Regions from separate parts of the Homo sapiens genome. Here regions 2, 3, 4, 5, 6 and 7 are each linked to region 1. Evidence: promoter capture Hi-C in 16 types of primary human blood cells and fetal thymus (Javierre and others, 2016). All regions are on one chromosome and are shown on one strand. The core of a region is centred on a gene start or on the middle of the fragment in contact, and the rest is flanking DNA. Distances in the headings are between cores, read along the strand shown. Region 1 holds the start of ARHGAP24 (Rho GTPase activating protein 24). Region 2 has its middle 250 kb from the start of ARHGAP24. Region 3 has its middle 230 kb from the start of ARHGAP24. Region 4 overlaps ARHGAP24 (Rho GTPase activating protein 24). Region 5 overlaps ARHGAP24 (Rho GTPase activating protein 24). Region 6 overlaps ARHGAP24 (Rho GTPase activating protein 24). Region 7 has its middle 210 kb from the start of ARHGAP24.

Region 1 (3,548 bases), core at 19-2,518:
AAATGTGCTGGAAACAGAAATTACTTGGAGAAATTACTTGTTTAATTCAAATGAATTAAACGAGATATAGTCTACAAAGAAGTCTGGGCTCCCTATTACTGGTTGATGCTGAAAATCTATCTAAGGAATTCAGAGTAACATTGTCTCCCTTCTATTTGGGTACGTATAAAATAAATGTAGTCTTAAGTATTTTCTAAAAACGAGACCATATTACATGTTTATCATTAAATGTTATTTTTAAAAACATTTGGACAAAATCTTTTGAGTGGCTTCAAATTCACCAAAGATTCCCTAACGTTTTGTGTTTACAAATATATGTATATATTTTATAATATATATTTCTAATATGTAATATATTTATAAATATTTTAAAACATATTTTATACATATAAAATATATATTTTTGCAAATATATATGCTTATTATTAAAACCTATCTTTGTGCGCCTGTTACATAGGGAACTCCTATAAGATACTAGAGGAAACAAACAAGGGGAAGGGGAGGATGGATACCAAGAGAGGAAATTGAATTGTACAAAGGGTTTTTATTAATTCCATCTATTTTTAAAGCCAGAAAGACATACTACCAGCTTGCTGTCTCCCGGCACAAACATGCGCGCGCGCGCACACACACACACAAACACAGACAGGCTACATCAGCACGGGATTCCTGCGATCCCTCCCCGCCCCCCGCAGCCCCCTCCCCGCCCCCCGCAGCCCCCTCCCCGCCCCCCGCAGCCCCCTCCCCGCCCCCCGCAGCCCCCTCCCCGCCCCCCGCAGCCCCCTCCCCTGGCGCAGGCAGCCGCGTCCGTCCTTCCCGCGGTAGCTCCGCGCACTTCCTCGCGACCGCATCACCTACCTTGCTGGGAGCTCAAGACAGATGCCGGACAGGGCTGCTGCTCCGAAGGAAAAGGCTCCCAGGACCAGCAGTAAGAAAACGCAAAGAAAAAAAGGTGGTAGTGAGGCTCCTTTACTTTCCACAACAAGGGGAAGTGTTGAACTCTATGCACTGGGCTGCTCCGCAGCGCGGGTTTCGGAGGAAATAGGCGGCCGAGAGAGCTGCGCCTGCGATGGGAAGTTGGGGGGATTCCCCCAGCCACCCAGCCACCCCCGCCAGGCTCCTCTCTGGTCCCCGCCGCAGCCTTGACAGCTCCCCTGGTCTCCGAGCCCCTCCAGAGCCCTGCTGGTTTCCACCCGGAGCTGGGCTGTGTTGCCACATGCACTTGAGAAATCCTAGCAGTTGCGCAAAGAGTCCCAGAAGTTAGAAAGGGTGATTGTGTGTGAATGTGTAAATATACAGTACAAGAGGCTGGAACAACTGAGTGGGGCCAACCCTCAGACACAGCTCGAGGTTTCAGATTTCATTTGGCAACTGGTAGCTTCACAGGACTCGAGCCGCACTACAGGGGAGGCCGGCAGGAGCCCCGCCCTCCCAAAGCCTGGGTTATCTGAGAGCTGGAGCTACACCGCCTGGCGCCACTGACAGAATGCGCCCTGCCTGGTTCCTCCGCATCTGGCATCGCTCGTTCCTTTCAAGTGCATCATAGATACTTGTTGGCCACAGATCTGGGGCTGTGGGCGCGAGAAGGTTGGTGAATACATGTCTCCTGCCCTCAAGGAGCTCTGCATTTCATTGGCCAAACCCCATACACCGGTTTTACTTGCTTCTACCAACTCTGTCTCGCTAACATTTTATTTCTCCAATTAGAATTACCTGGGCCATTAAAGCAATATTCCTGGAAATGCACATTTAGATGGATGCTCTCTAACTAGAGCCTTAGAGAAATTCAAAGTATAATTACTTTCTTACGGTGGTGTAAGAACTCTCGGAGTTACACAATATGGGACAAAAGGACAAACTAGTAAACATTGTTTTGATGCAGGCCGTCTCTTCCCACCATCACCACAATGTCTGTTTCAAATTGTGATCTTACAGTTCTGGTTACCTGGCATGCTGAGTCAAATTATTTCAAAAAGCTTTGTAAAGATCTCTGTTTTAGAAACCCACTTACAGTGGATCAGTCATGCAATCCTAGCACTTTGGAAGGCTGAGGCAGGAGGATCGCTTGAGCCCAGGGGTTTCAGACCAAAATTGGCAACATAATGAGACTCCTGTCTCTATAAAAAAAAAATTAAAAAAATAAAAAAAAAGTTGGGCGTGGCGGCGTATGTCTGTAGTCCCAGCTACTCAGGAGGCTGAAGCGGGAAAATCCCTTGAGCCCAGGAGGTCAAGGCTGCAGTGAGCTATAATTGTGCCAGCGCACTCCAGCCTAGGTGACGGAGTGACACCCCCGTCTCGAACAATTACTACTGCTACTACTAATAAAAGAAACTCTCTTTTAGAAATCATCACCAGATATCCTTAAGACACAGAATGGGGGTGTCCTCACTAGGGATCTCCAGTGAGAGAGGGATATGGAAGAAGAGCAAATGTTTAGTTTTAGAAACACCAAAAATAAAAGGCTGAGTGGACACTGATATGTTTTTCCTTTTTGTCCTCTTTCTCCAAGTTCTTGGAGAAACGAATCTACCCCATCCCATGCTGAGGTCCTACTATAAACTTGATTTTCTGGTGGGAGAATTCTCAGCCCTTTAATGAATCAAATTAATTTGTGTGGGGAAAAAATTGCGTTTCATATTTCATTTTAAAAATATGTATGGAATTCCTAAGCTAGAAGTAATGTAGCTTATTTTCCAATTGGTGGGAATAAATTACCTTCATCAACCCACATGGCCTTACATGTTCTAGCAACACCCTAGCAGGTGAATGCTGATGGGCAGTTTCAGATGAAAGCTGGAAAATAACATTAACCCAAATGAAATTTGCACACATTTGATGGACTCAAAAGCCTCAGGAAGACAAGTACCAATAATTATGATTCAAGATGGGGACATTTAAAAAAACAAGGAAACTGTCATGTCAGTAATTTATTTCAGGGTCTAACAAATATTACCACAGCAGTTTAGTCTCAAAGTGATACAAAACTGAACTCAGGGTGGTTACTGGGTAGTCCCTAGTCCAAAAGATTAAGACACACCTCTAATACACACACAGGCTGTGTTCAAGGCCTTTTCCTTCCCATCTTCTGGTTCTGTCTCCACCCTTTCCAACTGATAGCACTTCATTGGTGTGTGTGATATATGTGATTATCTTAAGCTAGAAAGTACAACAGAAGGAGAGGATGGTTGTCACTTGGGGATTAGACAGTTGAGAGGATAGGAAAGGAGTTATATCCACCAATACAAGCCCCTTCTTCCCCTCCTACTTAGAAAGAGGTGGACCATTGCATTCCTTTTCTAGAAGCCCCTCAGCAAGGAGTCTGTTCCAAGAGAATATAACCTGAACTAGAAACTGCGTTGTTTTCTGGCCTCTGACTATACTGCTCCTCTCTTATTGTAGATTAGTTGGGACCAAGAGACATTCCTTATACGTATTGTGGCATCTTTAAAGGAGAGAATAAACTCTTGAACAAGACCCTTGAAACCTGATTCTAATCAGAGGAGAATGCTGATGTGACTGATACAGACTCCAGGGAGGTGGTGCCTGAC
Region 2 (3,312 bases), core at 804-3,303, 250 kb after region 1:
CCATGCCTGGCTACCCCAGAAGACTATGGGCCCAACACAGTCACTGCTGTACAAGCTAGGTGTTTTGCTCCACCAAGTACATTTCTGTTGTCCTGTGAACACTTCAGATTTTCCATTGCACCTATACCCAACCCTCAGTGTCCAGAGGATGAAGCCACAAGACATTCCCAGTACCCCAGGCTACACTGTGCAGCTTGGGAGTGCCAAGCTAAAATTTGTGGCTGGCATTTAATTGGGGGAGGAGCCAACACCCTCAGAACACTGAGAGGGATGAGACATGTGGTTCTGTGGGCTGGCACAAGAGTAGGACATGCCTCTTTCTGCAGGGCCAGTCCAGAAATTGTGTGAACTGTCTCCCTGTACGGCCTCTACAAAAGTAAGCCCCATAGCCTGAAACACCTAATAAAAGAAAACCAAGTACAGTGCCAGTGATTGGAGGGGGCTCCCAGAGGCCCAGGAGTAGACCTGATGAGAGGGTCACCTCTCCTCCCCCAACACCATAGAGTATGGCTGCAAACATGAGGAAATACATAGGAATCACATGGCTAAGCACGTCTATCTTCCAGCAGTTACTCTTTAGCATCATCTATTGGCTCACAGCCCAAACTGCAACGCCAAAAATATTTTGCTAATATATCCCCCTATGAAACCAAGGGCAAGAATTCAGCTACAAATAAAAACCCTGCACAGAGCCTTGACCCTCTAAAAAGATTTTTAAAAATCCAACTGACTTCACTACAGTGAAGTTGACATTCCTTTAACTTACACCACAGTTAAAGGAACACCAACCCTCCCAGATGAGAAAGAATCAGCACAAGAACTCTGGCAATTCAAAAATCGAGACTGTCCCCTTCTCCAAGCAATAGCAATACCACTAGCTCCCAGCAATGGTTCTGATATGGTTTGGCTGTGTCCCCACCCAAATCTCATCTTGAATTGTAGCTCCCATAATTCCCACATGTTGTGGGAGAGACTGGGGGGAGATAATTGAATCATGGGGGTGGTTTCCCCCATACTGTTCTCATGGTACTGAATAAGCTTCATGAGATCTGATGGTTTTGTGAGGGAAAACACTTTCCCTTGTTCTTATTCTCTCTTGTCTGCCACCATGTGAGATGTGTTTCTTGCTTTCTATCATGATTGTGAGGGCATCCCAAACCACGTGTAACTGTGAGTCCGTTAAACCTCTTTTTCTTTATAAATTACCCAGTCTCAGGTATGTTTTTATCAGCAGCATAAAAATGGACTAATACAGGTTCTCAACCAGTCTCAAATGACAGATAGAGTTCATAATCTTAAAGACAAAGAAGCTCATTAAGATACAAGAAAAAGTTGAAACAAAATCCAAGGAATCCACTAACACGATCCAAGAGTTGAAAGATCAAATAGCCATGTTGAGAAAGAAGCAAACCAAACTCCTAGTGCTGAAAAATCCTTTATAAGAATTCCATAATACAATCTGAAGTATTAACAGTAGAATAGACCAAGCTGAGGAAAGAATCTCAGAGCTTGAAGACCAGGTCTTTCAATCAACTCAGTCAAACAAAAATTAAGAAAAAATAATTTTAAAAAATAAACAAAATATCCAAGAGATATGGGATTATGTTAAGAGACTAAATCTATGACTCATTGGCATTCTGAGTGAGAAGAGAGAAAAAGCAATTTGAAAAATATATTTGATGATATAGTCCACAAAAGCTTCTCCAATCTCACTTGAGATTAAAGAAACACCTTCATTAAGAAATTATAAAGGTCTCAAATTAGCAATCTAACTTAGCACCTAAAGGAAGTAGAAAAACAAAAATAAACCAACACAAAGCTAGCAGAAGAAAAAAATAATTGAAATTAGAGAAAAACTGAGTGAAATTGAGATGCAAAAATCCATTCAAAAGATGAAAGAGGTTTTTTTTTTTTTTTTTCAGAAGAATGAACAAGATCGGTAGAGTGCTAGCTAGATTAACATAGAAAAAGGAAGAGAAGATAGAAGTACGAGCAGAAATGACAAAGATGGCATTACAGCTGATCCTATAGGAAAAAAAAAAAGATTCCCAGACACTACTATAAAGAAGTATGCACACAAATTAGAAAATCTAGAGCAAATTGATAAATTCCTTGAAACACACATTCTCCCAAGATCGAATCAGGAAGAGATTGAAACTCTGAATAGACAAATATGGAGTTCTGAAGTTGAATCAGTAATAAAAATCCTAACAACCAAAAAGAAAATCCCTAGACCATATGGATTCATAGCCAAATTCTACCAGATGTACAAAGAAAATCTGATATCGATCCCACTGAAACTATTCCAAAATATTGAAGAGAATGGGCTTCTTCCTAACCCATTCTATGAAGCCAACATCAGCTTGATACCAAAACCTGGAAGAGGAACAATGCAAAAAGAAAGCTTTAGATCAATATCCTTGAAGAACATGGATGCGAAAATCCTCAACAAAATACTAGCAAATCAAACCAAGGAATATATTAATAAAATTAATTCACCACAATCAAGTATGCTGTATTCCTGGGATACAGGCCTGGTTCAACATATGCAAATCAGTAAATGTGATGCACCACCTAAATGGAATCAAAAGCAAAAACCATATGATTCCAATAGACATGGAAAAAGCATACAATAAAATCCATCATCTCCTTATGATAAAAAAAAACCTCTTAACAAACTAGACACCAAAGTAGCATACCTCAAAATAATAACAGGACATCTATGACAAATCCATAGTCAACATCAGATTGAATAGACAAAAGCTGGAAGTATTCACTTTGAGAGATGGAACAAGACAAGGATGCCCTCTCTCACCACTCCTATTCAACATAGTACTGGAAGTCCTAGCCAAAGCAATCAAGAAAGAGAGGAAAATAAAAGGCATCCAAATAGGAAAAGAAGTAAATTTATTTCTCTTTGCTCATGGTATGATTCTGTGAAAGGCTCAAAAGACTCTGTGAAAGGCTCCTAGAACTGATAAATGACTACAGTAAAGTTTCAGGATACAAAATCAATGTACAAAAATCAGTATCATTTATATATATATCAATAATGTACAGACTGAGAGTAAATCAAGAAAATAATCCAATTTACAATTGCCACAAGTAAAATGAAATACCTAGGACTACATCTCAACAAGGAGGTGGAAGATCTCTATGAGAAAAACTGTTGATGAAAGAAATCAGAGGTGACACAAACAAATAACAAACATTATATGCTCATGGATTGGAAGAATAAATACTGTTTAAATGGTCTTACTGCCAAAAGAAATTCATATATAAGTGCCAACTTCAAACTATACTATAAGCCTA
Region 3 (3,399 bases), core at 55-2,554, 230 kb after region 1:
AGATAGAAGGTGAGATATTGAGGGCCTTGGCTTTGACTGACACTAAAGCGTCAGAGAAGGAAAAGTTGCTCGGTTTAAAAAATATAAAAAGAAGGTAAGTCGTTTTGTTGTTTTTCTTGCTTTCTTGCCTGGTCCTTAAAGGAAGTTACAGAAAGGAGAAAAAGGAAGGAAGAAAGGAGAAGCCAATAAGGCAAGAAAGGCTGAGATGGGTAGAAGTTCTTTGCAGTGGCAATGCAAAGGGCAGATATTTTCAAATGGGTAGCACCTATGTCGAGAATTAAGTCATCTGTTTCACAGTATTGTATACTTCTCCTCAGACTCCACCGTGCAGCCCTCAATAAATCAATGCTTTCTATGGACGATATGGAGTAAAACTAAAGAGATGTGAATTTCATATCTGGGTCAACATATGAAAACATAAGAATTCAGAAGGAGCTAAAAAGCCATTGCAATGTAAGACTCCTGAAAATTAGCATAATTCTAGGTGCAAGGTTTTGTATTTTCACAAGCTATGGTTTTAGCAAGCTTGAGGTCCATGTATATCTACTAGGACTTGAACTGCAGTTCAACCACTTTATTAGCAATATTACCTTGAGTAAGCTAATTTTTCAGAGACTTCATTTCTTATCTGTAAAATAAACATAATGGCAGTGCCCCCATTGTGTGCCTAGAGCTTAGTAAGCACCTATTAATTTTAGCTATGTAAACTTTAAAGTGCTTGGCAAATGGGTTTGCTAAGAGCTGGGGCTCTTGAAGAGCTACTGCTACAAAGTGAAAAATGCAAATACTTTATTAAAGAAGCATCCTTTGCTATTGTGAGTAGTGCCGCAATAAACATATGTGCACATGTGTCTTTATAGCAGCATGATTATAATACAAAAAATAAAAAAAGAAGCATCCTTTAAACCAGCTTGAAATTTCCTTGAAAATCAAGTCTCTCTTGTCTTGTAAAGCAGTCCCACTATGACCTTCAGTACCCCATGGAAAGGACTGTGATGTCCCAAGAATTCTTTTCTGTCAGTCCCCGCTGTACAGTTGCTTGAGTACTTACAGAAATTGTAAGAGGGGTCATAAAGAGAAGAGTTAATTTGTCCCCCTCCAAAAATTTGCTGATATATATATATAAAACAGCTATATGTGTATATATATATATAGTCTGATTTTACAGGTTAGCTGCTCAGAGAGAAAACTGTAGAGCAACAAAGAAATAACTGGAACTGAGTGCTAAAGACAATCAATCCCAATAGAATTCTGAGGTGGTGGATCAGACCAATGAATCATCAATGCACAGGAGCTGCCACCCCTGACCAGGCCTATGGAATGGCTGGTACTCCCCTAACCTGGTGCTGAGGTGGCGAAACAGGACCAGGGCCAAAGATCTACCTCTTCTTGATCCTTTACTGTGCCCTTGATTAAGCCAGCACAGGATCTGATTTTCCCCAAGCAGGCAACTTCCTAACCACACAACCAGGCTCCCTCTAATGGAAGTGGATGTCTGGTGCTGCTAGATCTCTGTGTTGCCCTAAAGTGTAAGAAGAACAGAGGTACACACTGTTGGTACTGCTTCTGTATATTTCAGTTTCTGTTAATAAACCCAATTCCAAAGAACTTGGGATGTATGTGCAGCCTGGCTATTTATCTTTGCTTTCTTATTAGAACTCAAGGGAGTCCTCTACTTTTTGGACAATTGTTTTCTGTAATATTAGCTCTACAGTTAATTGAACATTCCACCTGCTAATCATAAAAAAAGGTAAACACAACACAGTGAGAGAGAAGGTATGCAGTTCGTGGCTGACAGTTTACTGGACAGTTCTGCACAGGAGAGTATCTGATGGGATTAAATTTAGGAGCAAAAGTAAGTGCCACTTTCTAGTTACTAGCCTTGAGCTTTTTCTAGCACTGAACCATTTCCACCTCCTCTATATCTTCTCTCAACTGTCTTGTCCAAAGACATGATTATTACTTTAATTAGCTCCTTTCTTGGATATTTCTTATTAAGACAATCTATTTTAGCAGTATATAGCTAATGATTCCTTCTTGTAATTTTGCTAAGAGAAATAACTAGTAATTTTTACAAGCTTATTTATAAATATTAGCAACCACAACCAAAAAACATAAAACATAAAGTCAGTAGCTAGATCTACACAATATTTGGAAGGGATTTAGATTATGCCCAATGTGACTCCATTTGTAAAGATTATAAAAATTCCCACTTATAAGAAAGTAAAAATTGCAAGCAGATTGCACATCTTTAAGGACATAAATAATAATCATAAGTGGGATCTACAAGCCAAGTAACAGAGGGTTGGTTGAGAGCTGAGGATAGATATGTAAAGTAAAAGGAGCTGGGGAAAGGCAGAAAGAATGGGCTATTTGAGCTAAACTCATAAATTTATATTTTTGCTTTACCAAGAAGATAGCTTCTCGTGTCCATTGAAAAACAAGAATGACAAAAATATATGAGATTGGAAGTATACTCTTTTAATACGGAAGAGTATAAGTTGAACTCTTACCAAACACCATGCACAAAAATTAACCCCAAATGGATTAAACACCTAAATGCAAGACTTAAAACAATAAAACTCTTAGGAAAAAAACAAAGGGCAAAAGCTTCACAACACTGGATTCTGCAAATATTTCTTAGATATAACAAAAAAGACACAGGCAACAAAAGAAACAAAACTAGATAAACTTCATTCAAAATGTTTTAAATTTATGCATCAAAATTTATTATCAAAAGAGTAAAAAGAGAACCCACAGAATGAGAGAAAATACTTGCAAATCATACCCGATGAAGGGTTGGTCTCCAGAGTATATAAAGAATTCCTAAAACTCAACATAAAAACAATTTACAAATAGGCAAAGGAGTTAAATAGGCATTTATTCAAAGAAGATACATGAATAGCCAACAAGTCCTTGAAAAGGTGTTCAACATTACTAATCATTTAGGAAATGCAAATCAAAACCACAATGAGGTAATCACCTCATACCCGTTAGCATAACTACTATCAAAAAGATAGAAAATAACAAGTGCTGGCGAGGATGTGCAGAAATTGGAATCATTGTGTGTAAAATGGTACAGCCATGGAAAAACAGTATGGAAAACAATATGGTGGTCCCTCAAAAAATTAAAAACAGAATTACCATATGATACAGCAATTCCACTTCTATGTATATATCCTAGAGAATTAAAAGTAGAGTCTTGACCATGTTCATAGCAGTATTCACAATACCTAAAATGTAAAAGCAACCCCAAAGTGTCCATTAACAGATGATGGATAAGCAAAATATGATATATAGATAGACAGACACACACACACACAATGGAATATTATTCTGCTTTTAAAAGGAAGGAAATTCTGCAATATGCTACAACATGGATGAAACTTGAGGATATTA
Region 4 (3,603 bases), core at 735-3,234, 250 kb before region 1:
TGCCTATTTGTATTATATATTGTATTATAAATAGGTGCTAAAAAACAAAAATGCCTACTCTTATCAAGTGCCAAAATTCTCATTCTTAATGAATGAGTCTGGAAAGATACCAGTGTATCCATTCCAGTTCAAAAAATAACTTCACATGCTCATATTTCAGAAAATAGGCTCCAGGCCTTTTTTACTTTATTTTTTGAGATGGAGTCTCACTCTGTCACCCAGGCTGGAGTGCAATGGTGAGATCTCTGCTCACCACAACCTCCGCCTCCTGGGTTCAAGGGATTCTCCTGCCTCAGCCTCCTGAGTAGCTGGGATTATAGGCGCCCACCAACACGCCCAGCTAATTTTGTGTTTTAATATTCTATTGAAACGGGGTTTCTCCATGTTGGTCAGGCTGGTCTCCAAGTCCCAACCTCAGGATCCCCCCACCTTGGATCCAAGCCCCAACCTCAGGATCACCTCAGGTGATACCCCTACCTCGGCCTCCCAAAATTTTGGGATTACAGGCGTGAGCCACAGCGCCTGGCCCAGTGTTAGCTTTTTAACCTGGATCAAATTACTTCTCTGTGCCTCAGATCTGTCGTTTGCAGAATAAAGATAATGACATTGCTTGCCTCATAGAGTTGTAGTAAGGATTAAATAAAGCGATACGTGCAAACAGCCTGGAACATTGCCTGGAATACAGATGTCTAGATACTGATAAGGCTACAGACATTATAACGGATACTGTAGTACTCTCTCTAGATCCCAAAGACTGGTATATTGGTTGCTGAAGGCACAAAGAGATTCTCATGGGAATTGTTCTACAACGCAGCAGGAACAGCTTCACCCAAGTTTATCTGTCTTCCTGCTCCCAATCAATGACTAGTTAGCAAGAGGAAACAAAGCCCCAGCCCCTCAGTTTGAAGCAAACTTGAGAGGGATCACCGCCTCAGGGGACCCCACTGGATCAGCTAAGACTTCAGTTGCTACAGCGTTGCAGGGCAGGTGTTCCTGTCGCATCCTGCTTTCCTCACTTTCTTGCAGAAAAAATATCTTCGGAGAACCTTTCCCATGACAATCTAATGTCATTCTCCATCAGCGTGTTTCCTGGAATCCAATCTAAGATTATAGATAGATGTAAATAAAACGTTTTATCCCCATTATCCAGGAACTGCAGCTAAGGTCCACCCCCCACCCCCCAAAAGAGGCTAAAACTCCACATTCTAAGCTGAAAAGACCGATGGAAATTGCACCTAGCCACTTCTCTGCCAGGTTTACTGAGAGAAAGCATTGCACTTCTGAGAACCCAAATGGCCCTGACTGTTTTGAGGGGGAAACTAGAAAAGAGGAAGTGCTACTTGGAGGAAGCAGTTTTCAAAATCAGCACTGGTTTTTGAGGGGGAGGACTAGGAATTCTCCCAACTATCAGAACAAGAGTATTGCTGGTAAATTTTGATGTGTGTTAGAACAGTGACTCACTCCTTCTCTAAGTCAGGGACTCATGATGGCCTCTGAAGCTTGGCAAGCCACTGACCTTGCTGGGCACTGAAGCTGATAACCCCTGGAGAAAGTGACAAGCCAAAGGAGGCAGCAACAGTGGAACAGCCTGCATTTCCCTTACGTTGCAGGCCAGGGTACATGAGTTTCCTAGTTGCTGAATAAACACAAAGCAAGCAGCTGGCCTTTGAGGCCTTTCGCTGTATCCCATCCAACAGGACTATCCCAATGCTGGGAGAATACTAGCATGTGAAGTGGATTTCTAATTCCAGAGACCCTGAAAAATCCACAAATGCATCTGTGAAAGATTCAGCCTTTAGAGAGGAAAGTCTGTAACGACCAGTCAGTGTGAAGGGGCTATGCCCCAGCAGTATCATCTGTGTAGGAAGATCTCTACCTTCTTCCATCCGTCTCTTGGTCTCATCATCAGAAAGGAAGGCAGAAAAGTAGGAAAGGAAACATGTAAGGAGTTTCTCTTCACTTTTGCCACTAGAGTGACAAAGAGGTCTTTGCGGGAACAGGGGAGAAAAGGTCCTATGCAACAGGAAATAGTTCAACATAGCAGAGTGGGGGCAGTTTCATATGACTGAGATTCTTCCATAAGCCTGGTAAATATATGCACTTCAAGAAATATTTGTTTAGCACCATATGTTATACTGTGCTATTTCCAGGTGTTAGGTATACAGTAAAAAGCAAGAAAGATGTGGTTTCTAAATATATGGAGATACATATAGTCCTCCTTTGTCTTGTTTTGCCTATTTCTTGTCTGTTTCTTTGTCATTTTATTTTTTTCTCTGAGAAACTTCTTTCCTAAGAAAGCTAAGGCATCATTATTCCAATAACTACTCTTTATTTTTTTAAAACATTTCAAGGAAAATTCAACTAGAACACATTTAGAGAAGCAGAAACCAACTGCATGTTCTTTCTTCAAGAACTGTTCATTAAAGATTTGCCAATCTTTCTTTCTCAACCACATTTCCCAAAAGCTTGGACTTTGGCCATAATAGTTCACTTCAGTCTAAAATTTGGCATGTCTGAAAGAGAAGACTTCAAATTTGCCAATTTGGCTGATATCCCTTTGAATAACAAGTAGAGAAATAGGAAAAATTTGGAGCGAAAAATCTATAACTCATGGCATTATTCAGAGAGATAATTCATTTCATAGGATAATGAATCTATAGGAAATCAACCCTAAAACATGGTAGATTTATTTTCAGATAGGTTTTTACAAAAGCCTAAAATATGCATACAAATATAATTTGTAAACAAATATAAATAAGTAATACACAAAGACCTGAGACGCTCAATTTTATTGAAAATTCTTGTTTTTTTAATATGATTTTCCTTGGTTTCATGGGATATTTCAGCATAAAGCAAAAGCAAAAATAAAACAAAATAAAAATTCCTATATATATATATATATATATATATATATATATATATACACACATGGAAAAATTATAAGGACATACAGTGCACATATGGATAAACTGTATTCGTAACACACACACAAATGTGTACGTATGCATATAGTGCTAAAATATATGGCAAAGAGCTTGCTAGAGGCTTTTGTTAGTTTTGTTGGAAATCATTATGGGCAGATGAAATTAAAATATGTAATCCTCTCCTACTCACTCATAAACTCTGGAGAGTTAGGCTTGAGTTAGCTATCCGTAAAGATAGACACTTGTTGGGTTTGTAAGCATCATCTTTATGATAGATTTTCAGAAGTGGCAATTGAAAGAATTTTATAGAGAAAGCCAATCTAGAATAAATATGCTTTATGAGGATCTGCTGCCAGGTAGGCCCACGGCCTGCCGAGGGTTCTATACACATTACCAACCACATTTCTGCAATCCTTGCTGCCTCCTATGCATTCTGACAAATAAAAACACTCTGTTGTAACATCCCAAATTATCATGTTAAACAATTACACCATTGAAAAAATTGAAAAATATTATCTTGTCATTCCCATTTGCAAAGATAAAGTAATTGTTATGTTATCCCTAAATAACCCCAATAATGCAAATATTGATGAAAATAACCTGATACAGATCCCACATTATCACAGAAGTACAAAAGCATTTGCCTAGAAATGCCATCCTGATGTCAAGGGCACACCAG
Region 5 (3,528 bases), core at 425-2,924, 220 kb before region 1:
TACATATGTCCAACAACGATAGGCTGGATTAAGAAAATGTGGCACATATACACCATGGAATACTATGCAGCCATAAAAAATGATGAGTTCATGTCCTTTGTGGGGACATGGATGAAACTGGAAACCATCATTCTCAGCAAACTATGCAGACACATTATCTGTGCACAACTAGATAGTTAAGCTCCTTGAGTATCAAAACAGCATTACATTATTCTTCATAACTTCTTTAGAATGTAGTCCAGTGCTAAGGACAAAGTAATTCTCTCTATAAATAATAATATAAATAATTTTGCTGACAGCATAAATGCATGCCAGTTGACTAATGGAAAACAACACAAAACCATGAGACCCTTTCCTCACTAGCTGATCGTTGGTCCAGTGATTTTCTAAAACTAAAAGGGGATTTTTCTTATAGTTTCAACTGTGGCACATTCATTATCCTCCGATATTATTGCTCACGATTATATCCCACTATCACTCCATATGCATCCTACTAGGAAAAAAGCTTCTGTCATTACTCATCCCTTTCAATGCCTCTTTTTTCCACTGACAAGACAGGGCCATCCTCAACAAGTTGATCAATGTTCCCTTTATCTCACCATTTCTGCATGGTGTCCTTTCATATAAGTCAGCAAGGAACTCTGGCATCTTCTCCCTCTACTCAGTTGAAAGTGCTGCCCCAGATTTAGCTATGAACATGATTTGTTGGGTACTTTTATTCACAATAAGCACAATCCAGTTGTGAGTTAGGTTGAAAGAATGTTATGTCTGTGAGACAACTTCAGCAAACTAAATTGCCATTTGATGTAAAACTTAAGATGTATAACAGGGCATTCAACTTATCTTAAAATAATACAAAAGCATTACAGGCATTAAAAATGAAAATGGAAATACGCTAACAAAAGGAAGGAAACAATTCATGAATCTGAAATGACTCAGGTAAATCATTCTGCTTATTGAATTCTAGATAGGATTGTATATTTCCTGAATAAACATCTACCTTTTCCTTATTCTGATGGTAAAAATATTGTGTAAATATCTTTTCTTCCCATTATTCAAGTTACCAATCTGAATGTTAGACACTAATAAAAGTTGATGATGAAGCAGGAAGAAATAAATACATTCAATATGTATTTACTTTTAGGAATTTAAAAATAGGGCATTTTAGAACTCACTTTTAATAAAAATAAAAGCTGTTGGATCCTAATAAAACACTAATAAAAGCTGATGATGAATCAGGAAGAAATAAATACATTCAATATGTAATTTAATTTTAGGAATTTAAAAATAGGGCATTTTAGAACTCACTTTTAATAAAAATAAAAGCTGTTGGATCCTAAATGAGACCCAGCACTCCCAATCTAGTTCATATATTCTGAGAGATTAAAATAATGAAAAAGTTGGTCTATCTACAAAATACTATATTCTCATTTATCTGTGTATGGCTAAACATAGATGAAAGGAATCTGCTCATACCTCTGGCTGCCTTAAATTATTTGTAACATTGTCAATATATTTCCTTCAGGAAAATAAATTCAAGTTATACTATATCAGTACATGTCCTCTATGGAATTGTATTTGCTATTGGGTACCATATGTACTGTGGATTTGAGATAGGAAGTAACAAACACTGCATAGTATATTACACTAATTAATTTGCTGTTATTCAAATTCAACTAAGAGGAAATTAAATTAATTTACTCTAATGAATATTAACTCATATTAGTTAATTTGAAAACATTCATCTCTAATTTATTTGACTTCCTGCTATTATAACTCATCAAGTGACTTAGGTGTGAGTTATTTAGCTTCAGACTTTTAACATATTAATTTCAATATTTCAGGGTCAGTGACAATCAAATTGAGTACAAATCCTTCATTGATAATCACATTTGCTATGACAATGGGGTTGCCAGCTCAAAATAGAAGGTTGCTAGTTTACAAAGAGACCTCCCACAATAATTTGATTTTTTTCCATCTATGATATGATTGAGCATTCTTATTATGATGGAATATATTTTTATTTTTAATCTCTTTCACTGAGATAAATGAACCAGGAGTTAGCTAAACCTTCCCCATACCCATGTAACAGGCAAACATGTTAGGTGAAGGCAAACCCTGTCTTTATTGGGCACATGCCATGATCTAGGAGAATATGAACCATGGTCTTTAGAAAGTAGCAGAGAACTTACATAGTTGTGTGTCAGCATCACTTAATTTTTTATGTAGAGATGGCTAAATGCAGGAACCAAAACATTATTTTGCTTTACTTTTCACAGAAATAATTCAGAATAGATAAGCTAAAATACGCATATACAACATTAAGATCTTCCAGTTGAGATGAAGTCTGGGTATTTGAATTCTTCTACTAAAATCCCAAACAAAAAATCTGAAGATTTTGCCTAAAATACACCTTGGAGTGTTATGCATAACATTTTACCTCCACTTTAATTGTTGTTGTCGTAATTGAGCTAACAGTTGCACTTGCATTTAATTATTACCATTAATATCTTGTGTGAAATTGATAACTCAGGTATGGCATGTGGGTCTGACTTGTTATTTGAGGAGTTTTATTTAAGACAAGAGCGTCATAGCTAAAAAGCAATATCAAGATGAAGATCCATTGATATAATTAGGAAAGGAAACTCTTTAATATTTTCATATACTTGCCCAACATACTCTTTGTAGCCTGAAACTTAACCTGAGAAAACACAGTTATGTATCAATAAATATATGTATACATGTATATATCTGTTATGTAAAACACATATACACACACACACACAGAGGGTGGAGGGGCCGAGGGAAAGTCAGGGACAGTGTCTTCAAGGATGAGAAGCTTTTTTTTCTCCATGTTTGCAAACAATAGAAACATTTTCTAGTCATTTAGAGATTATAAAAATTAATGCTACTAGTACTATTAATACTTGTTAATAACAATACTAAAGGTTTTATCCATTCATTCAAAAAGTGATTGTGCTGCTCTAGATGCTTGGTATACCGTGGTGAATAGGACAGATAAAGGTCCTACTCCACTAGAGCTTACGTTTGGCTGATGAGTGAATTTTTGATATATGCCAGTGGCAGACTGATTCCAAATCCCGTGTTCTTCCGGCACCACCTAGCTGATTTACAAGTTTCTCCTGCCTTAACACCAGTGGTTCTTTCCCACTTGAACAATCCCGTAGTTTCTCTGAAATTAAAGAAGAGCTGAAGAGAAGGGACAAGATGGCTGACTAGATGCACAAGAAAGTGCTGCTCCCACCAAGAAAGACCAAAATTTTGAGTAAACAACATAATTTGAATAGATTTTCATAACGAAAATGCTAGGAGTAGACGGAGATGCAATGCAGACACTGAAGCTGAAGAGGTAGGAAGCTGTGAACCATCCGTGGGGTACTCAAATGCTAGGGCTAGTTCCTGGCCCTGAAAGGCTCCTGGGGAAGGAGTGGGTGAAGGAACTGTATGACTCTCACCATGGTCCTCTGGGATTCTAGCCACAGGGCACCCCAGGTACCCCATAAACAT
Region 6 (3,378 bases), core at 761-3,260, 200 kb before region 1:
AAAATACACTTCCTCAATACATTTTGGCACGGCTGTTCAGAGGGCCCAAACAGAAGTAGCCCTGCAAATCTGTCTTTTGTGGGGGAGATTTGCATCTGTAGAGAAATAAAGTGAAGTAAACAAAAGATGCAAACAAGCTTTCTCTGAAGCCCCCCTTGTCCAGGTCTAGGAAAGATGAACTGAGAGTATGAACCTTTAAAGATCTGAGAGAAATATTCACCATCTATTCTCTCTGAGGGCTGCTACCTGCAAGCTTTCATCTACACCACAAGACCACCTTTGCTAGCCAGGTTTCTCCTCTTCTTCCTCTCATATAACTTGTCTTGCCATGCTCTAAGCTCCCCTATTCTTTCTGTAACCTCAAGATGGTATAAAAGTGTCAACCATCTTGCCTTTCTTTGAGTTCTTATATTTTGCGTGACTCCTGCGCCTGTCAATAAATTTGAATATCTTTTCTTGTGTTAATCTGCTTTTTGCAATGGATTTCTTTTAGCAAACCTTCAGAGGATAAAGGGAAATTTTCCCTTGGCCCCTACATTGCCAGCATGCATCGGACACCTCTCTGGATGCTGTAGCCTTGTACTTCCTATAACAAAATGTCCATTTTGGAGATGAGAAAGGAAAGATCCTGTTTCAACTGACTGTAAATCTGAAAATGACTAAGACTTGTTTGAATCATGTTTTTATTGTCAGTCAGAATAGGAATTTGAAATTCAGATGAATATGAGCTATATAAAAATGTAGTTACACTTTATTTTGCACTGTTTGTAGTCTGATACATTGATGCTGACTTTACAGATCATTTTTTCAACCTGACTGCCTAGAATTACAGTCTGAACAATCAGAAGCTTCCTGGTATTAATCATATTTCTCCAAATGACTTTATTATTTGGCTCTTGTTTTAATGTTTTGCTTGTGTCTTTCATTATGTGATTCCTTTAAATTCTTTTTGAAAGTACTATAAATGAAAACAAATTTGGGCATTGAACCGAAAATTCTTGATTGTGTTGAACTTTGATACTACTTTTCAAAGAAAATAGCCCTTTTGCTTGTTTGTTTGTTTTAGAGACAGAGTCTTGCTTTGTCACCCAGGCTGGAGTACAGTGGTGCAATCATAGCTCAGTGCAGCCTCAAACTCCTGGGCTCAAACGATCCTCCTGTCTCAGTCTCCTGAGTAGCTGGGACTACAGGCAGGTCACCACTATGCCATGCTAATTTTTTTACTTTTTGTAGAGATGGGGTCTCACTATGGTGCCCAGAGTAGTCCTGAATTCCTGGCCTAACGTGATCCTCCTGCATTAGCTTCCCAAAGTGTTGGAATTCAGGCATGAGTTACCATGGCAGGCCAGGAATAGCCTTTTTTTAAAATTTTTTTCCTTTTTCTTTTTTTTTTCTTTGATGGAGCCTCACTCTTTGGCCCAGGCTGGAGCACAGTAGTACAATCACAGTTCACTACATCCTCGAACTCCTGGACTCAAGTGATGCTCTTGCCTCAGTTTTCCCAATAACTGGGACTACGGGCACACGGCCCCATGTCTGGCTAATTCTCTATAGAGATAGGGTCTTGCTATGTTTTTCAGGCTGAAACAGCTCTTTAAAAACTTGATAAACTAGTAAATTAATTAGCACATTAAAATTAGTGAGAAACAAGAGCCTACAAAATGGAAAGTTAATACATAATACCAACAAACAGTTGGCTTGTGCTCATTTTTCTGACATTTGATGTTAAGTGTATCTCTGACCTAAACAGACTAGGTGTACACATGACATCACTTGCTTTTGGCCAGCAAACCTGGACTTTATTCCTTTTACAGAATCACTATTAAAATAAATGAAAAGCTCAAAGGAATTTTACCACTGAAATGTTATCAGAGGACTCATAACTGTTCATGGTTAAAAACTCACTTCATCATTAACAGCAGCAGCAGCAGAAATGAGTACATCCTTGGTGGTCTGCCAGGTCCAAAGGCTATCTGGAAATATATTCTGAATGTGAAATAGGTTAATTAAGCTCATTGTTCCCTGGCTGTCACTCTAAGGGACAGCAGGGAGGTACCGGCTGTGTGCCTAACTAGGTTGGGTAGCAAACTTGAATCCTTCCCACCCCTGAATGTGCATATAAAATGTGGGTTGCCTGCCAAGGTCAGGACTACAAGATAAATTTCTGTACATAAACATAACATATAAATGGAGGATTAAAAGCTCATTAAGATGTTGTGAGGAGGATAAAGAGAGAAGAGCAAAGCAAAAGGAAAAGCAATGGCTTGCATGTGTGTCTGTTGCTAATGACCTTTATTTAATCAAAGCTACTTGATTCAGAGGATATCCACGTTGCTCAAGAGGAATGCTTCTTGTTGTATAAAAGCCTGTACGAAATCGTTTTCCCCCAGTGTGAGTGCTCTGCTCTGCCCCCGTTGGGTTCTTCCACCCTGTGTGGCTGGAGCCTCCCTTCTGGTAGCCTCAGGAAGGCAGTGGCTCTGCTTGCTTGTTTCATGTGCTGCCACTTCTCAAGTCCTGCTCTCACCTGTTTCTTTTAATGACACTGGAATAGGAAATATGGGAATCCTTTCCTTACCATGCTATTGTACTTCAAAACAACTACTTCTTTTGACAGAATTAAAGTGCAGTATATTTAGGGAATGAGCTAACATTGCTCTCCGTGTCTCTGCAAGTCTTTGAAAAGATGAATGGGTACTGCTTGGCCCCCTCAGACACTATACTGATCTTTTCATAACCCTTTTCCTTGCTCTTCCCAACTCCAGACCTAAAATGTGCACTGTGAATACCTACAATAGGTCCTTGGGAGCCAAAAGGACCATTGGTAACAATAGGAGAAACAAGACAAACATTTAAGTTTCCTAACTCCTTGTTCAGTGTTCTTTTCCCACTTGGTTAGAGTTCAGACCCTCCACTTACCCAACACTACCAACTCCACCCCTAAACCCAGACCCCAAGCCCCAACTGAGCTGCAGATGTAAATACAGTTTCCGGGGGAGCTTGCTTAACAGTTGTTAAATTATAATGAAAAAAATCAGAGTTTGCCCCATTTAGAGGATTTTGCAAAATGATCTCTCTGAGTCCCTGGAATATGCACAGCAGCAGCAAAGAAAAATGTCAGCATTAATTTGATATGGCTTTTTGTTGCAAGCAGGACTGCTCATTAAAAGCTTAAACAGGTGGCAGGTTTGGCAGCCCAGTGTGTGTATTCTATGTACAGATTTATTATGCCTTTCATTTTAAAATATTTGTGCCGAAACAGACTCAGTGAGATGAATTATCTTGTTCACAAGAGCATTCTGTTCAAGGCTGCTATGATAACTGCCATATCAATCAAATTATGCAATGAAAACTTACCATCAATTTTATCATCATTATCAA
Region 7 (3,517 bases), core at 510-3,009, 210 kb after region 1:
TTAGTTTATTGACGTTTTTATCATGAAGAGATGTGGGATTTTATCAAAAGCTTTATCTGCATCTATTGAGATGATCTTTTTTTTTTATTGAATTCTGCTTATGTGGTGAATCACAATTACTGATTTGCACATGATGAGCCAACCTTGCTTTTCAGGAATGAAGCCTAATTGATAATCTTGATAATGGTGAATTAACTTTTTGAAGCACAGCTGGATTCAGTTGGATAGTATTTTGTTGAGAATTTTTGTGTCTATATTCATCAGAAATATTGGCCTGCATTTATTTTTCATGGGCCTGCAGTTTTCTTTTTTTGTGTGTCTTAAACAGGTTTTAGTATCAGAGTGATGCTTGCTTTGTAGAGTGAGTTAAGGAGGAGTCCTTCCTCCTCAATTTTTGGCATAGTTTCAGTAGAATTAGTACTAGCTCTTCTTTGTATGTCTGGTAGAATTTGGCTTTAATGCATCTGATCCAGGACTTTTTTTGGTTGGTAGGTTTTTCATGACTGATTCAATTTAGGAACTCAATATTAGTCAGTTCAGGGTCTCAATTTCTTCCTGATTCGATCTTGAAAGGTTGTGTGTTTCTAGGAATTTATTTTCTCTAGATTTTCTAGTTTATGTGCACAGTGGTGTTCATTATAGTCTCTGAAGATCTATTTTATTTCTGTAGGATCAGTTGTAATGTAATTTTTCTTGTTTCTGGTTGTGTTTATTTGGATCTTTTTTTTGTTGTTGTTAATCTAGCTAGTGGTCCATCAATCTTGTCCATCCTTTCCAAGAACAAAATTTGGTTTCATTAATTCTTTGTATGGATTTTCAGGTCTCAATTTCTTTCAGCCCTGCTGTGATTTTTGTTATTTATTTTCTTCTGCTAGCTTTGGGATTTGTTTGTTCTTATTTTTTTAGTGCCTGTAGGTGTGGTGTTAGAACATTAATTTGAGATCTTTCTAACTTTTTGAGATAGGCATTTAGCAATATAAACTTTCCTTCTAACACTCCTTTTCCTGCATCATAGAGATTTTGATATGTTGTGTCTCTTTTTCATTTATTTCAAAGATTTTTTATTTCTGCCTTAATTTCATTGTTTACCCAAAAGTCATTCAGGAGTAAGTTAATTTCCATGTACTTGTATTGATTTGAGAGATCTTCTTGGCATTGATTTCTATTTTTGTTCTACTGTGGTCCAAGAATATGATTGGTATGATTTCAATTTTTAAATTTATTGAGATTACTTTGTGGCCAAGCATGTGGTTGATCTTAGAGTATGTTCCATATGCAGATAAGAATGTATATTCTATGGTTGATGGAGTATTCTGTAGATGTCTATTAGTTCCAATATTTTGAATTTAAGTTCAGAATTGTCAGTTTTCTGTCTCAATAATCTGTCTCACACTGTAAATGGGGTGTTGAAGACTCCCACTATTATTGTCTAGTCTGGCTGTCTAAGTTTGTTTGTAGGCCTAGAAGTATTTGTTTTATGAATCTGAGTACTACAATGTTAGGTGCACATATATTTATGATAGTTAAATCTTCTTGTTGAGTTAAACTGTTTATCATGTAATAATCTTTTTACCCTAAATCTCATAGCCTTTTGCTATAAGGGATTCAATAATGTCTAGAAAATGTTTTTGAACACCCCTGGGGTTTGCTAACCCTTGACTCTCTGGGATTATGGCTGATAGAATGGTGGCTGGAGGCAAGAAAACTGGATGGTGTCTGCTTTGTCCTAAACGGATTATATGCATGAGAGATGAAAGATGAGATGATGCCAGCTTAGGGCAGGCAGAGTCTGGCATACAAGCTAAGGTCATACAAAGTATCTTTCATATGTAACTTGGCATGTTCCTAAGCAGCAAGTACTGGGGTCTACGTGGAACATTTCTAACAGGTATTCTCTCACTGTTCCAGCAATTTTCACACCTTTCCCAGTCCCATATAAACATCACTTTATAGCATTTGCATTCAATGTGATTTAATAGGAGAAGTAATTTATTCAAAATCAGTCTCCAACTGCAGAATAGTCAATTTACTTTGGAAGAATTAACAGTTAACTGTTTCAGAGGAATTTTCTTGCTCAGGCTTGTTAGAGAATCTAATCATATATGTGACTTATAAATTCAATTTCCTAAGGCTGGAATGGCACTGAGATTCCCTTGGGGTTTTGTTCATTTGTTTGTTTATACTGAAATCCATTGTGTGGTTTATGAGTGCCTAAAGTGAGTGAGAAGTCCTGACATTATTTGCAATTTGTATAACTGTGTCTGTCCACTAGATATTATGGCTTGATGCAGGTAGTAACAGCAATCCATTGCTCTAAGACTTCTAGATTCACAAGGTATTTAGTTCTCCCAGCTTTTCCATGATCTCTGGGAGGTCAAACAATCATTCTGGACTTGATTACAGATGTATCACATCAGAAATATGTATGTCAACAGTCCACTGCTCATTGTTATCAGTTTTCAGTTTCCACTGATGCACCTAGCCTGATGCTTACTCACATATTGCTAACTCATATTTTTCCAGATAGTTTAACACTGACCTTTCTATTCAAATCTGTCATAGTACCATGCTAAATATGATGCATAGCACTTAATGACACAGCGAAAACAGTCTGAAAGCGTATTGCCTTAGGTTCAACTATCTTGCCACCTTCCAGCCCTATATAGTCATTGCTTTATAGCACTTTCATACAACGTAATGTAATAACAGAGGTAACTTAATCAAACTCAGTCTCCAACTGCAGAATAGTCAATTTGCTTGTGAGAAATGAGCAATTAACACCTTTAAAGATGCTTACTTGTCCAGGCTTGTTAGAAGATCTAATTATGACATGCCTTATAAATTCAAGTTGACTACTTTGAATTGTAAGTTTTTCTCACTTTCACAATATATGTGATATAGTTATTAAGACTTTGAAAGAAAATATTTCAAGAAACCTAGGAATAAAATATAATTCATAATTTAAAAGATATATTTCTTTAGGTTTGTATTTTATTATTTTTATAATCTAATACATGTATATAACAAAATATATTATAATAGCAAAAAAATCTAGTCTTTTCACCCAAATCCTTTTTTCTGAGTCTCATTCTTTAGAAGTTACCTTGGTTTTTACATCTTCTGCTGATATCACCATAATTCTAAAGGATATGTTTATAACTAAATTCCTTGCTGTATTAAGCAGGGTTTCCCAGAGAAAGAGAGCCAATCGGCTGTATACATAAATATATTTATTGTAAGGAACTGGCTGATGCAATTATGACGGCTGACAAGTCCCAAGATGTGCAGGGTTGGTAAGCTGGGGGCTCACAAGCGCTGACGGCATAGCTCCAGTCTAAGGCCAATAGCCTCAAGACCCAGTACTAGCCAGTGTTTCAGTGTGAGTCCAAAGCAGAAAAAAGATAATGTCCCAGTCAAAAGCAATGAGGCAGAAGGAATTCTCTTTTACTCAGAGGAGGGTCAAGCTTTTTGTTCTATTTAGGCTTTTAACTGATTGGATAATGCCTAGATACATTAG

Evidence for each region. Contacts are between HindIII fragments. The CHiCAGO score rates a contact against its expected background, and 5 or more counts as called.
Region 2: a fragment that was not itself captured here is called in contact with the fragment with the promoter of ARHGAP24 in region 1 in 2 of 17 cell types (total B cells and naive B cells); the score reaches 9.5 in total B cells.
Region 3: a contact is called between a fragment that was not itself captured here and the fragment with the promoter of ARHGAP24 in region 1, in 2 of 17 cell types (total B cells and naive B cells). The highest score is 6.7, in total B cells.
Region 4: a contact is called between a fragment that was not itself captured here and the fragment with the promoter of ARHGAP24 in region 1, in 7 of 17 cell types (total B cells, naive B cells, M2 macrophages and 4 more). The highest score is 21.0, in total B cells.
Region 5: a fragment that was not itself captured here is called in contact with the fragment with the promoter of ARHGAP24 in region 1 in 5 of 17 cell types (total B cells, naive B cells, M2 macrophages and 2 more); the score reaches 23.3 in total B cells.
Region 6: a fragment that was not itself captured here is called in contact with the fragment with the promoter of ARHGAP24 in region 1 in 6 of 17 cell types (total B cells, naive B cells, M1 macrophages and 3 more); the score reaches 25.2 in total B cells.
Region 7: a fragment that was not itself captured here is called in contact with the fragment with the promoter of ARHGAP24 in region 1 in 1 of 17 cell types (naive B cells); the score reaches 5.4 in naive B cells.

Annotation. Positions count from the first base shown.
Region 1 is chr4:85,472,870-85,476,417 of GRCh38, reverse strand. It overlaps ARHGAP24 (Rho GTPase activating protein 24), which reads right to left and starts at 1,268. Exons shown (of 10, transcript NM_001025616.3): 1 at 859-1,268. The HindIII fragment of the contact is 5,990 bases long and covers 1-1,978 here.
Region 2 is chr4:85,225,722-85,229,033 of GRCh38, reverse strand. No RefSeq gene overlaps it. Among named protein-coding and RNA genes, the nearest start is that of ARHGAP24, 250 kb to the left of the region's middle. The HindIII fragment of the contact is 706 bases long and covers 1,701-2,406 here.
Region 3 is chr4:85,242,131-85,245,529 of GRCh38, reverse strand. No RefSeq gene overlaps it. Among named protein-coding and RNA genes, the nearest start is that of ARHGAP24, 230 kb to the left of the region's middle. The HindIII fragment of the contact is 1,553 bases long and covers 528-2,080 here.
Region 4 is chr4:85,723,812-85,727,414 of GRCh38, reverse strand. The region is part of intron 3 of ARHGAP24 (Rho GTPase activating protein 24); the gene reads right to left. It overlaps LOC124900728 (a long non-coding RNA gene), which reads right to left. Exons shown (of 2, transcript XR_007058169.1): 2 at 2,771-3,603. Among named protein-coding and RNA genes, the nearest start is that of MIR4451, 3.1 kb to the right of the region's middle. The HindIII fragment of the contact is 966 bases long and covers 1,502-2,467 here.
Region 5 is chr4:85,693,922-85,697,449 of GRCh38, reverse strand. All of the region lies in intron 2 of ARHGAP24 (Rho GTPase activating protein 24), which reads right to left. Among named protein-coding and RNA genes, the nearest start is that of MIR4451, 27 kb to the left of the region's middle. The HindIII fragment of the contact is 2,334 bases long and covers 508-2,841 here.
Region 6 is chr4:85,676,057-85,679,434 of GRCh38, reverse strand. All of the region lies in intron 2 of ARHGAP24 (Rho GTPase activating protein 24), which reads right to left. Among named protein-coding and RNA genes, the nearest start is that of MIR4451, 45 kb to the left of the region's middle. The HindIII fragment of the contact is 2,319 bases long and covers 851-3,169 here.
Region 7 is chr4:85,268,230-85,271,746 of GRCh38, reverse strand. No RefSeq gene overlaps it. Among named protein-coding and RNA genes, the nearest start is that of ARHGAP24, 210 kb to the left of the region's middle. The HindIII fragment of the contact is 3,414 bases long and covers 53-3,466 here.